Regions from separate parts of the Homo sapiens genome. Here regions 1 and 2 are each linked to region 3. Evidence: promoter capture Hi-C in human tissues and cell types (Jung and others, 2019). All regions are on one chromosome and are shown on one strand. The core of a region is centred on a gene start or on the middle of the fragment in contact, and the rest is flanking DNA. Distances in the headings are between cores, read along the strand shown.

Region 1 (3,627 bases), core at 453-2,952, 140 kb before region 3:
TGAGGCGGGAGAATGGCGTGAACCAGGGAGGCGGAGCTTGGAGTGAGCCAAGATCGCACCACTGCACTCCAGCCTGGGCAACAGAGCCAGACTCCATCTCAAAAAAAAAAAAAAAAAAAGAAAAGAAAGAAAAGAAATACCTGAGACGGGCCAGGCACGGTGGCTCACACTTGTAATTCTAGCACATTGGGAGGCCCAGGCAGGTTGATCACCTGAGGTCAGGAGTTCGAGACCAGCCTGGCCAACATGCCAAAACCCCATCTCTACTAAAAATACAAAAAATTAGCCGGGCATGGTGGCGGGCACCTATAATCCCAGCTACTCGGGAGGCGGAGGCAGGAGAATTGCTTGAACCCAAAAGCGGAGGTTGCAGTGAACTGAGATTGCGCCACTGCATTCCAGCCTAGGGGAAAGAGTGAAACTCCATCTCAAAAAAAAAAAAAAAAAAGAAAGAAAAGAAATACCTGAGACTGGGTAATTTTGTAAAGAAAAGAGGTTTAATTGGCTTATGGTTCTTCAGGCTTTACAGGAAGCATGGTGCTTGCACCTGCTCAGCTTCTAGGAAGGCCTTAGGAAGCTTACAATCATGGCAGAAGGCAAAGTGGGAGCAGGGACGTCACATGGTGAAAGCAGGAGCAACGGGAAGGAGGTGCCACACACTTTTAAACTACCAGATCTCCCAAGACCTCACTCACTATTGTGAAGACAGCACCAAGCCATAAGGGATCTGCCCCCATGATCCAAACACATCCCACCAGCCCCACCTCCTGCATTGGGGTTTACAATTCAACATGAGATTTGGGAAGGGACAGAAAGAGACACAGTATACAAGCCTGCTGGAGTGAAGAAAGGATAGATGGAGAAGAGATAGGCAGCTGCAGATGCGAAGGCAGGAATCAGCTGTCTATCCACCCAGTACTTAGTAAACTCCTAACTCAGAAAGTTCCTCAGGTGAGACCATTAGAAAGGGAAAAGAAGAGTACTGAATCACTCAAACTTGAAAATAGATTTTTTTTCTCGCTCTGGCTTTGGAGATCTAGCAAATGTCCATGAAAATGGAGGGGGGGCCAGGCGCGATGGCTCAAGCCTGTAATCCCAGCACTTTGGGTGTCTGAGGTGGGCAGATCACAAGGTCAGGAGATCGAGACCATCCTGGCTAACACGGTGAAACCCCATCTCTACTAAAAATACAAAAATTAGCCGGGCATAGTGGCGGGCGCCTGTAGTCCCAGCTACTCGGGAGGCTGAGGCAGGAGAATGGCTTGAACACGGGAGGTGGAGCTTGCAGTGAGCCGAGATTGCGCCACTGCACTCCAGCCTGGGCGTCAGAGCCAGACTCCGTCTCAAAAAAAAAAAAAAAAAAAAAAATGAAGGGGGAAGACTGATTTAATTAATTTTACTTCTGGAAGGTAGGAAATGGGATTTACAAAGATCAAGGTTGCTAAATGTATTATATATAATATTGCCATAGTCAATATATTTCTATTTCTCATGGCCAACCATGATGTGAGGTTCAACTGAATTTGAATACCATAAGCAAAAGAAAATTTAAGCTCATCCAAGAGTCTATGTGACTACTTTCCTCATTGATAGCCACATATAGCTCAGTCATGTTAATGTAATTTTGGTTTTAGCATTTCCATCATTTTCTTAAATTCTTAAAGTTGTAAATACGCAACAAAAAATTTACTTAGTCTAAGCCAAAGTTGGTTTATAGGGTCTTAGCCCAGGAGCAAATTTTATTTATTTAGCCATAGTGATTGGGAAGAGCCCTTTTCTGGCAGCTAATGACCTACTGGAGGACTTATGTGCCTAAGGCAAAGCTGAAGGCCATTAGCCCAACAGGTCATTAACTGACAAATGCCTGACCCTGAGGTCATTTCTGATATTGTAAACTGTGAAAACTTTAAAGTGGGTTTGTTGGAAAGTATGGCTGTGCCAAGCAAGTTTCTTTTTAAGCATTCTGGAAATTTCATTAAATTGTTTGTTGTCATTCCTATGGCTTAATTGTCATTGTTCTGGGACCATTTTCAGGGTGTAAAGTCAGGCAGAAATCTGGAAACACCAAAACTATATTGCAAATCAAGTCTTTGGTTTTTAAAGGATAGTTTCCCTGTTTAGAATATCAGAGTAACTGTTTACTAATAACAGTTTTAGCTACACTCTTGGGGATCACTTATATTTTCATAATGTGTTGAGCTACATAGCACTTATGTATTTTACATTCCTAGAGATGACATGTAAAGCTACAAAGAGAAGTGGAAAGAACCATAAAGTAGAAGTCTGTGGACCGAATTCCTAGCCTTGGCTTTTTTTCTCTTTCATTTTTTCTTTTTTCTATTTTTTTTTTTTGAGACAGAGTCTTGTTCTGTCGCCCAGGCTGGAATGCAGTGGTGCGATCTCAGCTCACTGCAACCTCCGCCTCCTGGGTTCAAGAGATTCTTCTGCCTCAGCCTCCCAAGTAGCGGGGATTACAAGCATGTGCCACCACGCCCGGCTAATTTTTTCCTTTTTTTTTGTATTTTTAGTAGAAGTGGGGTTTCACCATGTTGGCCAGGCTGGTCTTGAACTCCTGACCTCAGGTGATCCGCCCACCTTGGCCTCCCAAAATGCTGGGATTTCTGATGTGAGCCACCACGCCTGGCCTCATTTTTTCTTTTGTTTCTTTTTATCCCCCAATAAGCCATTTAACATTGAACTCTTCATTTTACCTCTCAGAATTCCAAATTCAGATCATTCATTCATCCATCTATTATTTCAGTCTATCTGATATCTTAATTCCCCATTTTTATCACTGAAATTAGAAACTTTATAGTTGTAGAAAATTTAATCATTAAAATTACCATCAAATATTTTAGAAATAACAATTTATATTTTTGAGGGCTTACTATACGGTAGGCACTGTTTTAAGTGCTTTATCTATATTAACCCATTTAATGTCTCCTGAGGTACAGGGAAAGGATAAGTAATTTCCCTCAAGGTAACACTGCTAATAAATGGTAGAGTTGCTGTCTAAATCCAGGCAATCTGACTGCAAAATCCTCATGCTTTACTAAAGTAGAAAACTGACAGACCAACAAAGAACCATGATACATTTTTGCCAACAATTTTGCAGTTATCAATCCTGGAATTTATGGTATCTTAAACGGTTATTAGTTTCTAAATATTGGAATACATATTTCAATACAAACATTGATAGGGGCTTCATGAAACTTTTTTTTTTTCTGAGACGGAGTCTCACTGTTGCCCAGGCTGGAGTGCAGTGGCACAATCTCAGCTCACTGCAACCTCCGCCTCCAAGGTTCAAGTGATTCTCCTGCCTCAGCCTCCCAAGTAGCTGGGATTATAGGCACCCACCACCACATCCAGCTAATTTTTGTATTTTTAGTAGAGATGGGGTTTTGCCATGTTGGCTATGGCTGGTCTTGAACTCCTGACCTCAGGTGATCTGCCTGCCTCGGCCTCCCAAAGTGCTGGGATTACAGGCGTGAGCCACTGTGCCCGGTGAAACATTTTAAATTAGCAACTTATAAGCAAAAGCAACTTTTTTTTTTTTTTTTTAGTTTTCTAAAAAAATAAAGGCAGCATCATGTCCATCTCTTAGATCCTTGCTGGTTCCAATATTCT
Region 2 (3,514 bases), core at 13-2,512, 160 kb before region 3:
ATAATAGTAATCATTTTTTTAAATCTTTTTAACTATTAACTGCCAGTTTAGATAACTCTTTTTTTAAAAAAATCCCTGAATCTTATAATTTGGGGACTGGAAGGGATGTGTTGCTCCAGTCCCCCTCCTTTCAGGGACAAGAAGACCACGGGTCTGATTTAAGGGATTTGCCCATGAATTGTCTTATGTAATAAGCAGAAGTAGAACTGTTATCCAGATTCCTGATTAGGCTAAAACTATTGATTTCATCCTGGTGAATTCAAACAACTTGACCTTCCCCAGTTACTGTAAACAAAAAGAATTAAGCCTGTTCTTAATATACTTTTTTCCTAGCAACATTCCCTTCCCTGTTGCTTCAAAACTAGGGATAAAAATTGGACAAATTTGTGGCATATATCAGTGATGGTAACATTGATAACTTTGGCTTATTCCCCCTCCCCAACGATCTACTATTCCTTAGGTAAATAAACATTTATTTTTATTTTTATTTTTATTTTGAGACAGAGTTTCACTCTGTTGCCCAGGCTGGAGTGCAGTGGTGTGATCTCGGCTCACTGCAACCTCCGCCTCCCGGGTTGAAGCGATTCTCCTGCCTCAGTCTCCAAATAGCTGGGATTACAGACATGCGCCACCATGTCCAGCCAATTTTTGTATTTTTAGTAGAGATGGGGTTTCACCATGTTGGCCAGGCTGCTCTTGAACTCCCGACCTCAAGTGGTCCACCTGCCTCAGCCTCCCAAAGTGCTGGGATTACAGGCGTGAGCCCAGCTAGATGTTTTAAATTGTCATTTGTTACTATGACAAGGTGGCTCTGAGTTCCAGCTTTGCCTTGTATAAACTCAGTGTTCTTGATCAAGTATTTAACCTCTGCAGACCTCTGTAATTAGAATCACAAGTAGATAATATAAATGAAAGGTTTTTTTAAATGGCAGACCCTGTAAAAATGATGGGCTTTCACTTTTATTATTGCATACCATTGTTTTTGTTGTTTCTGGTCATGTGGCATTTAAAAGTTTCTATTTATTTAATGAATGCTGTTTTATGACTATAGATGTCAAAATCACTCATTTTCATCCTTTGAGTAATTCAAAACACCACAACTTTTTGCTTACCTGGTTATTACTTTCTTTCATAAACTGAACTGCATGAAAAACTTGTCCAAATGCTTAACGCTTTTTACTTTTATACTTGCCCATAATCTCATTATGTGATTTTTGTGAAATGTGATAATGCGGACTTTTTTCAGTGAATGGTTTTGTAAACTAGAAATCATTCGCAGGATAGTAATAAAATACAATTTTATTCCTTTCTTTTAGTCACTTTTTAAACGGTAATTTTAAATGTTCTACTTTAAAAAAATGTCTTCTGTTAACTTTTCAACTGTCTTATAAGTCTCCATTCTTAGTGATTTTCTTTGGGATATAATGAGATTTTAATCTAAACCATGAATTTACTCTTAGATACTATTTGACTCACTGGTTCATTTCCTTTCTCTACTCCCCAAATTTGTAATCAAGTACAATATGTCTACTGGGTCATCTTTACATATTCTCTTAATTTTTTTAACAAAGGAAATCAATTAGACATGAGATTTTCCTTGGCATTTGATAATGCCAATTTGTTCTTTTAATTGTATCTTTATGTGATTATTATAGATGTTAAACCATTCTGTTTTTTTTAAGAGGAGTCTCATATATTATTTGATGATTTTATATTTATTTATTTATTTATTTATTTTATTTATTCATTTATTTTTGAGACAGAGTCTTGCTCTGTCATCCAGGCTAGAGTGCAGTGGTGCAATCTCAGCTAACTGCAACCTCTGCCTTCCGGGTTCAAGTGATTCTCCTTGCCTCTGCCTCCCAAGTAGCTCCCAAAAATTAGTCAGGCACCCGCCAACACGCCTGGCTAATTTTTGTATTTTTAGTAGAGACGGGGTTTCACCATGTTGGCCAGGTTGGTTTCGAACTCCTTACCTCAGGTGATCCACCCGCCTTGGCCTCCCATAGTGCAGGGATTACAGGCCTGAGCCACCGCGCCTGGCCTGATTATTCTATATTTATTTCTCTCCATGTCTAAGGCGGTGTCCTAGGTCAAGCCCTTTTGTTGCATCTTCCTTGGACCTTTGTAATAGCTCCCCCACCCCATATCCCTACTTTCCCTACATACTTTTTAAGATTTTTCTATGTATCACCTTTGGAATCTTCTTCCTAAATTATTAAAAAATATATATCATCCTTTCATCTCAAAATATTGCATGTGTAAAATATAGACCATTTCACCTGCTATAACCAAGCTCCAAAATTCTTATCTCTCACTTATCCACACAGTCCCTTTACTGTAGCCAAACTGATCTTTTCAACCTTTGGTCACGTTTTCTACTCTTGCCTTCTCTGTGTCATGATGTGTAGTCTTTCTTATTCTGGGGTTCCCAAGCCCTACTCTTGTTTTGTCCTTTTTCTCCAGCTATGGAAATCTTACTTGCCTTTCCAGGCCCCGCTCAAATTTAGCTTCTTCAAGGAAACTTTTTTAAAGCTTTTGTGACACAGATGAGGTCTACAGAAAAAAAGGAAAGATAGAAGCTTTCAATGGGCACATGTGGAAGGCAGCCTAATCTAGTAGAAATAGATTGGGGATTGGAGTCTCTGTTAGTTATCTATTGTGTAACAAACTACTCCAAACCTTGGTGGCTTAAAACAATAACCAACTTATTTCTCATAATTCTGTTGTTTGGCTGGACTGTTCCTTTGCTGGTTTCTCCTGTATTTATTTATGTGTCTGTGTTTACCTGGTAAATGTGCAGGGGGCTGGGCTTGACTGGGACAGCTGGACCTTTCTCCATGTTGCCTTTCATTCTCTAAGAGGCTAGATTAGGTTTCTTAACTTGTAGTCTCAGGTTAGCATTCAAAGAGTGTAAGCCCCAATGCAAAAACATTTATCAAGCCTGTTTGTCCCTCATTTGCCGATGTCCCATTGACCAAACAAGTCATATGGTCAAACTCAGCATCAATCAAGGAGATCATACATGGCTTGGATATCAGAGGGTGTGACTGATAAGTGTAACTTGGTGTAACACTCTGCCACAGTTTGCCCTCTGGCCCCAATATTTCACATTCCTTCCATATGCAAAACAGACCACCTCCCAAGACCCCAGTCTCATCCATTTTATGACATCAAGCTCAGAGTCCCTGATCTCATGATTTCTGTTAGGTCTCGATATGGATGTGGCTCCATGGGTGCAGCCCCTCTTCAGTCAGGGACCTAGGAACTAAAAGGACAAGTTATCCACCCTCCCCCCAACCACACACCACCGTCTATCCAACATGCAACAGTGAATCAGAAAGAAGATAACCACAGTTGTCACTTCCATTAAAAAGAGGGAGAAATGGGAGGTACATAGCAGTCACTAGTCTGTAGCAATTCTGAAATCCAGCTGGGCATATATCTGGGCCACCTACTGTATCTTGGAGCAAGGAATGTTTCTTGATTAGGGCTCAGTTCTATTCCCTGGAAA
Region 3 (4,013 bases), core at 445-2,944:
TGCAAAATGTGCTTAAGTGCTACTTAACTATTCCTAACTCTTCTACTGGGAAATCCTAGAAAACTGAACTAATGAAATGCAACTTCTACTTTAAAAATTCTAATTATAACTGTCACATTAAATTGAAGGTGAGAATAAAACTGGTGTATCTGTTAACTAAGTCAAGCGATGTACTGTGTCGTACGTGTTATTTAATGTGCAAGTGTAAAAGTCAAGTTCTCTGCAGAAATCGAAGTGCCTCCCCTCAGTCTTCTGCGAATGTATAAATTAACCATTCTCCCCCAAGCAGTCCTCCTCCCTTCCTCCCTCCGCCCTATTTTAAATGTAGATAGGGCGACCTAAGTCTTTTGAATTTGAAGGGCTGCTATCTCGGCCCCATTCTTTTCATCATCCTGTTTTCAATGACACTGAGCACGTATAGATTCTTCTATAAAAGCACCCCCTGGATGCAGGGCTTGGTTCTTCAGGCTGCTTGCTTAATTTTGCATAGCAATTAGTACTGACTTCACTAAACCAGTAATCCAAATACAGCTCGAGAATGTTCCACGTAGTTCCTCAAACTTAACCCTGTGCCTTTTGATTTCAAGCCCGAAGGGGGGGAACTTGCATAATTACTAAATTCCCAATTGGAGTGGTCTGAAGGAGGGTACGGTAAACCCAAACTATACGTTAATTCAAACCCTCGCCGCGACTGGGCAGCAAGGAGCCAACATATGCCTTCTTTTAAAAATCTATTCTACCTATTCACTGACCGCGCAGGGCCGTGCCACATGGTCCTCCCTTGCAGCCAGTCAGCTGTGAGCAGCAGATGGGATCATTTGCATTTTTCTTTTTATACTTTCTTTGATCGGCAAATTAAAGGATTTTTCTTAAATTTACATTCTCATTGTTTGCCTAAAATACAAACGTGGCTAAACTGTTGAATTGGGCTTCCCTGACTCTCACCCAGCACCTCCCCCTCCCCCTACCCAGCCACTGAGACTTGAGAAAATACCCGAGGGGTAGATTTCGTATTTATCAACTGGGAATCTACAGTCCAAGAGTTAGGAGTAGACAGAATCAGCCTTTATTGAGTTGGTGACTCGTGTTTTTCTATTTTAGGCGCTCGGCGCAGACAGCCCGTGGGTTTGTGTTTGTGGGGTGTGTGTCTGTGAGCGCGGGCGCTTCCGAAGCTCTCGCTCCGCAGCCTCACACCCCAGAACTTCGGGTTGCAAGAGCAGATTTTAGCTCTGAGGCTCACAACAGAGGGCGGCCACCGTGCAGGGGGAGTGGCCAGAGCCAGCTTTTCCCAGCGCCAGGGTCGCTCTCCCGGGTCCCGCCGGACTCCATGCCGCCCCGCGGGGCCGCAGGAGCCACCCGGGCCCTCGCGCCCCAAGGTCTTTGTGCCGGTGGCGGCGCGGGAAGACCGGCCCCGGGGGCCTGGGCTGCGGCCCAAAGGCCAAAAATGCGGGAGAGGCGTGGGCGCGAGGCGGGACAAGCTCCGCACAGTCGCCGTCCCGCAAGGGGCAAAAAAGTAGAAAAAGCCGTTTGGGGCCAAACTCTCGGGTCTGAGAAACCACGTTTCCGAGGACGAACTCGCGGTGGGAGGACACATGGGGTACAGGGGACATTGTTCGCGGCGCCTGCCCGGCGCGCCGTGGGTGCGCGGCCGCCGCCCCCGCCCCGGGCAGCCAGCGCGGGCCCACGTGGAGCCACTGCGCTGGCCGAGCGCGCCGGGCCGCCTGGGTCCCGGGAGTGCGCGCCCGAGCTCCCCGCCGCGGCCGTTCACGCCCGAGCGCCGCCGCCGCCGGTCCCGCGTGTGCCCCGCTGAGGGGGAGGGGCGGGCCGGGGGTGGGGGCGGAGGGGTTGTGGTTCCACTGCAGCGGGGGCTCCTGTGTCCTTGTGCGGAAATGACACACGGAGTCCCGTCACGTCACGCGAGAGCGCAGCGCACGGACACACACAAAGAGAGGGGAAAATACACGGCGCTCGCCCGCCCGCCGCCCCCAGCGCCTCCCCGGGCCGCCCTGGCCAGGCCCTCCGCGCGCGGCCCCCACTCCCCGGCCCCGCGCCCTCCCCCCCACGTGGCGCCCAAACTCGGCGCGGGCCCGCCCGGCAAAGTACAGAACTCGCGTCCCAGGTAAGTGCGGGGCGGATCAAGCCGGCCGCGCGGCGGCGGCAGCGTTGGCGGCTCCGGGGCGAGCGGCCGGTAGAGTGGCTGCAACATCCATGCCGGGGTGGGGGCGGGAGCAGGGGAGGGGACGCGGAGGGGGGCTGCTCCGAGCGCGCCCGCCGGTAGTAGCGCCCACCCCCGCGCGGGCCGAGCGACCGGAGCGGGCGCCGGGCGCCCACGGGCTCGCCGCGCCCATTGTGCTGCGCGCCCCTTTGTGCCCGCTCGGAACGCGGCGGCTCCATGGCGTTCTGGGGAGCACGCGCGCCGCGCGGGGGCGGGGGGTTCGCGCGGTGGAACCGTCCGCGCCGCCGCCGCCGCCCGCCCCACTCGCGCCGCGCGCCGGCCCCGCACCCCCGCCGGGCGCCGCGATGGAGCGGCCGGGGCGGCCGGAAGGCTCTGCCGTACTCGCGGCGGCTTGGCGCTCGCGCTCGGCGGGGCTTTGGCGGGGCACTGCTCGGCGTGTGGAAGGGGGTGTCGGAGCGGGAGCAGGGGGCGGGGACTGGAGGGAGATGCCGGGCGGCGAGCGGGAGGCCGGGGGAGCAGCCGCTCGGAGGAACGAAGCCTCCGGAGGCTGCAAATGGAGCGAGGCCGGCCCGCGGCGGCGGCGGCCGGGAGCGGAGAGGGATGGGCCCCGCCGCCAGGGGGCGCAGCGCTCCCTTCCCGGCCGTTCCACGGCGGTTCGCGGTTCCCGCTGCCCAGGAGCTGGAGGCGGGCCCGGCGCCTTGGGTGTGCACCCGGGCTGGCGCGAGGCCTGGCCGGCCGGCCGCAAAGCTGAAGCCTGGGGCGCTCGCCGCTCCTCGTGAGCGCTCCTTTCCTTCTCTATGATAAACGTGATTTCCCACGCATGCTTTGCCCTTGCCTCATCCGTGAGCTGTGCACCACCGATTTGGAGGCCCTTGTGTGCTTGTTTACCTACGTCTCCCTATGTAGCTATTTTAAACAAGGTGTTTTTACAGAGATAAAAGTTTTATTGATTGCTCAGGTGGTCTTTCTGGAAGAATTCTGCACGTAAACGCTAACTCGACAAGAGTGCCGGGAGGAACAAGGTTACTCACTAGAGTTGGAAATGTGCAGTTCATCTCCTTAAAGTAACTTTTGAATGGTTGAATACAAATAGTAAACATGCCACAGGGCAGCGTGGCATAGTGCCAGAAAGCTACGGTTGCAGGAAACTGAGGTAAGGAACTGAGTCCTTCAGGTAGCCAGGTATATAAACGGCTGGGATGGAGGACTTTCTCTTGTTACCCGCTCCCCACTTCCACCCTTGCAGTCCGTTTTTCTCTCTTTTTTTTTTAAACCATTCATCCCTAGATATTGGCTTTATACTACCATACAAGAGCCTGTCAAGCTTTCCTCGGTACTGGGACTTGGGCAAGATTTTTTATCTCCCTCACAGTTTCACATCCCCAGCCTCTAACCCGGTGTCTCATAACTTAGTAGGCGTTCAGTGCGTATTTCCTAAATGAATGGAGAGAGCCTCTTGGATTCTAGAGGAAAGATGGAGCCAGAGCGCCAGTTGCTGCTGCTGGGTTAGCTGGTGTCTGTGTGGCCCTTGAAATCTGTCACATCAACCTCCTGTCATGGAACATGAGTTTTTTTTTTGTTTTTTTTTTTTTTTTGAGACGGAGTCTCGCTCTGTCACCCGGGCTGGAGTGCAGTGGCTTGATCTCTGCTCACTGCAACGTCTGCCTCCCGGGTTCAAGCGATTTTCCTGCCTCAGCCTCACGGAGTAGCTGGGATTACAGTCCATGTGCCACCATGCCTTGCTAATGTTTGTATTTGTAGTAGAGACGGAGTTTCACCATGTTGCCCAGGCTGGTTTCCGGACCTCAGGTGATCTGCCTGCCTGGCCTCCCAAAGT

What was found. The method cuts DNA at HindIII sites, captures the fragments that hold promoters and counts their contacts. A contact is called where the count stands out against the background at its distance.
Region 1: a contact is called between a fragment that was not itself captured here and the fragment with the promoter of BEND3 in region 3, in 1 of the 25 tissues and cell types used here (heart right ventricle).
Region 2: a fragment that was not itself captured here is called in contact with the fragment with the promoter of BEND3 in region 3 in 2 of the 25 tissues and cell types used here (bladder and heart left ventricle).

What each region holds. Positions count from the first base shown.
Region 1 is chr6:107,258,400-107,262,026 of GRCh38, reverse strand. All of the region lies in intron 3 of PDSS2 (decaprenyl diphosphate synthase subunit 2), which reads left to right. Among named protein-coding and RNA genes, the nearest start is that of BEND3, 140 kb to the right of the region's middle. The HindIII fragment of the contact is 6,860 bases long and covers 1-3,627 here.
Region 2 is chr6:107,276,202-107,279,715 of GRCh38, reverse strand. The region is part of intron 2 of PDSS2 (decaprenyl diphosphate synthase subunit 2); the gene reads left to right. The region is part of intron 1 of LOC124901366 (a long non-coding RNA gene); the gene reads right to left. Among named protein-coding and RNA genes, the nearest start is that of BEND3, 160 kb to the right of the region's middle. The HindIII fragment of the contact is 4,222 bases long and covers 1-3,373 here.
Region 3 is chr6:107,113,196-107,117,208 of GRCh38, reverse strand. It overlaps BEND3 (BEN domain containing 3), which reads left to right and starts at 1,694. Exons shown (of 4, transcript NM_001367314.1): 1 at 1,694-2,119. RefSeq lists enhancers at 1-444, 445-1,208 and silencers at 1,801-1,850, 1,891-1,940, 2,071-2,980. The HindIII fragment of the contact is 9,723 bases long and covers 1-4,013 here.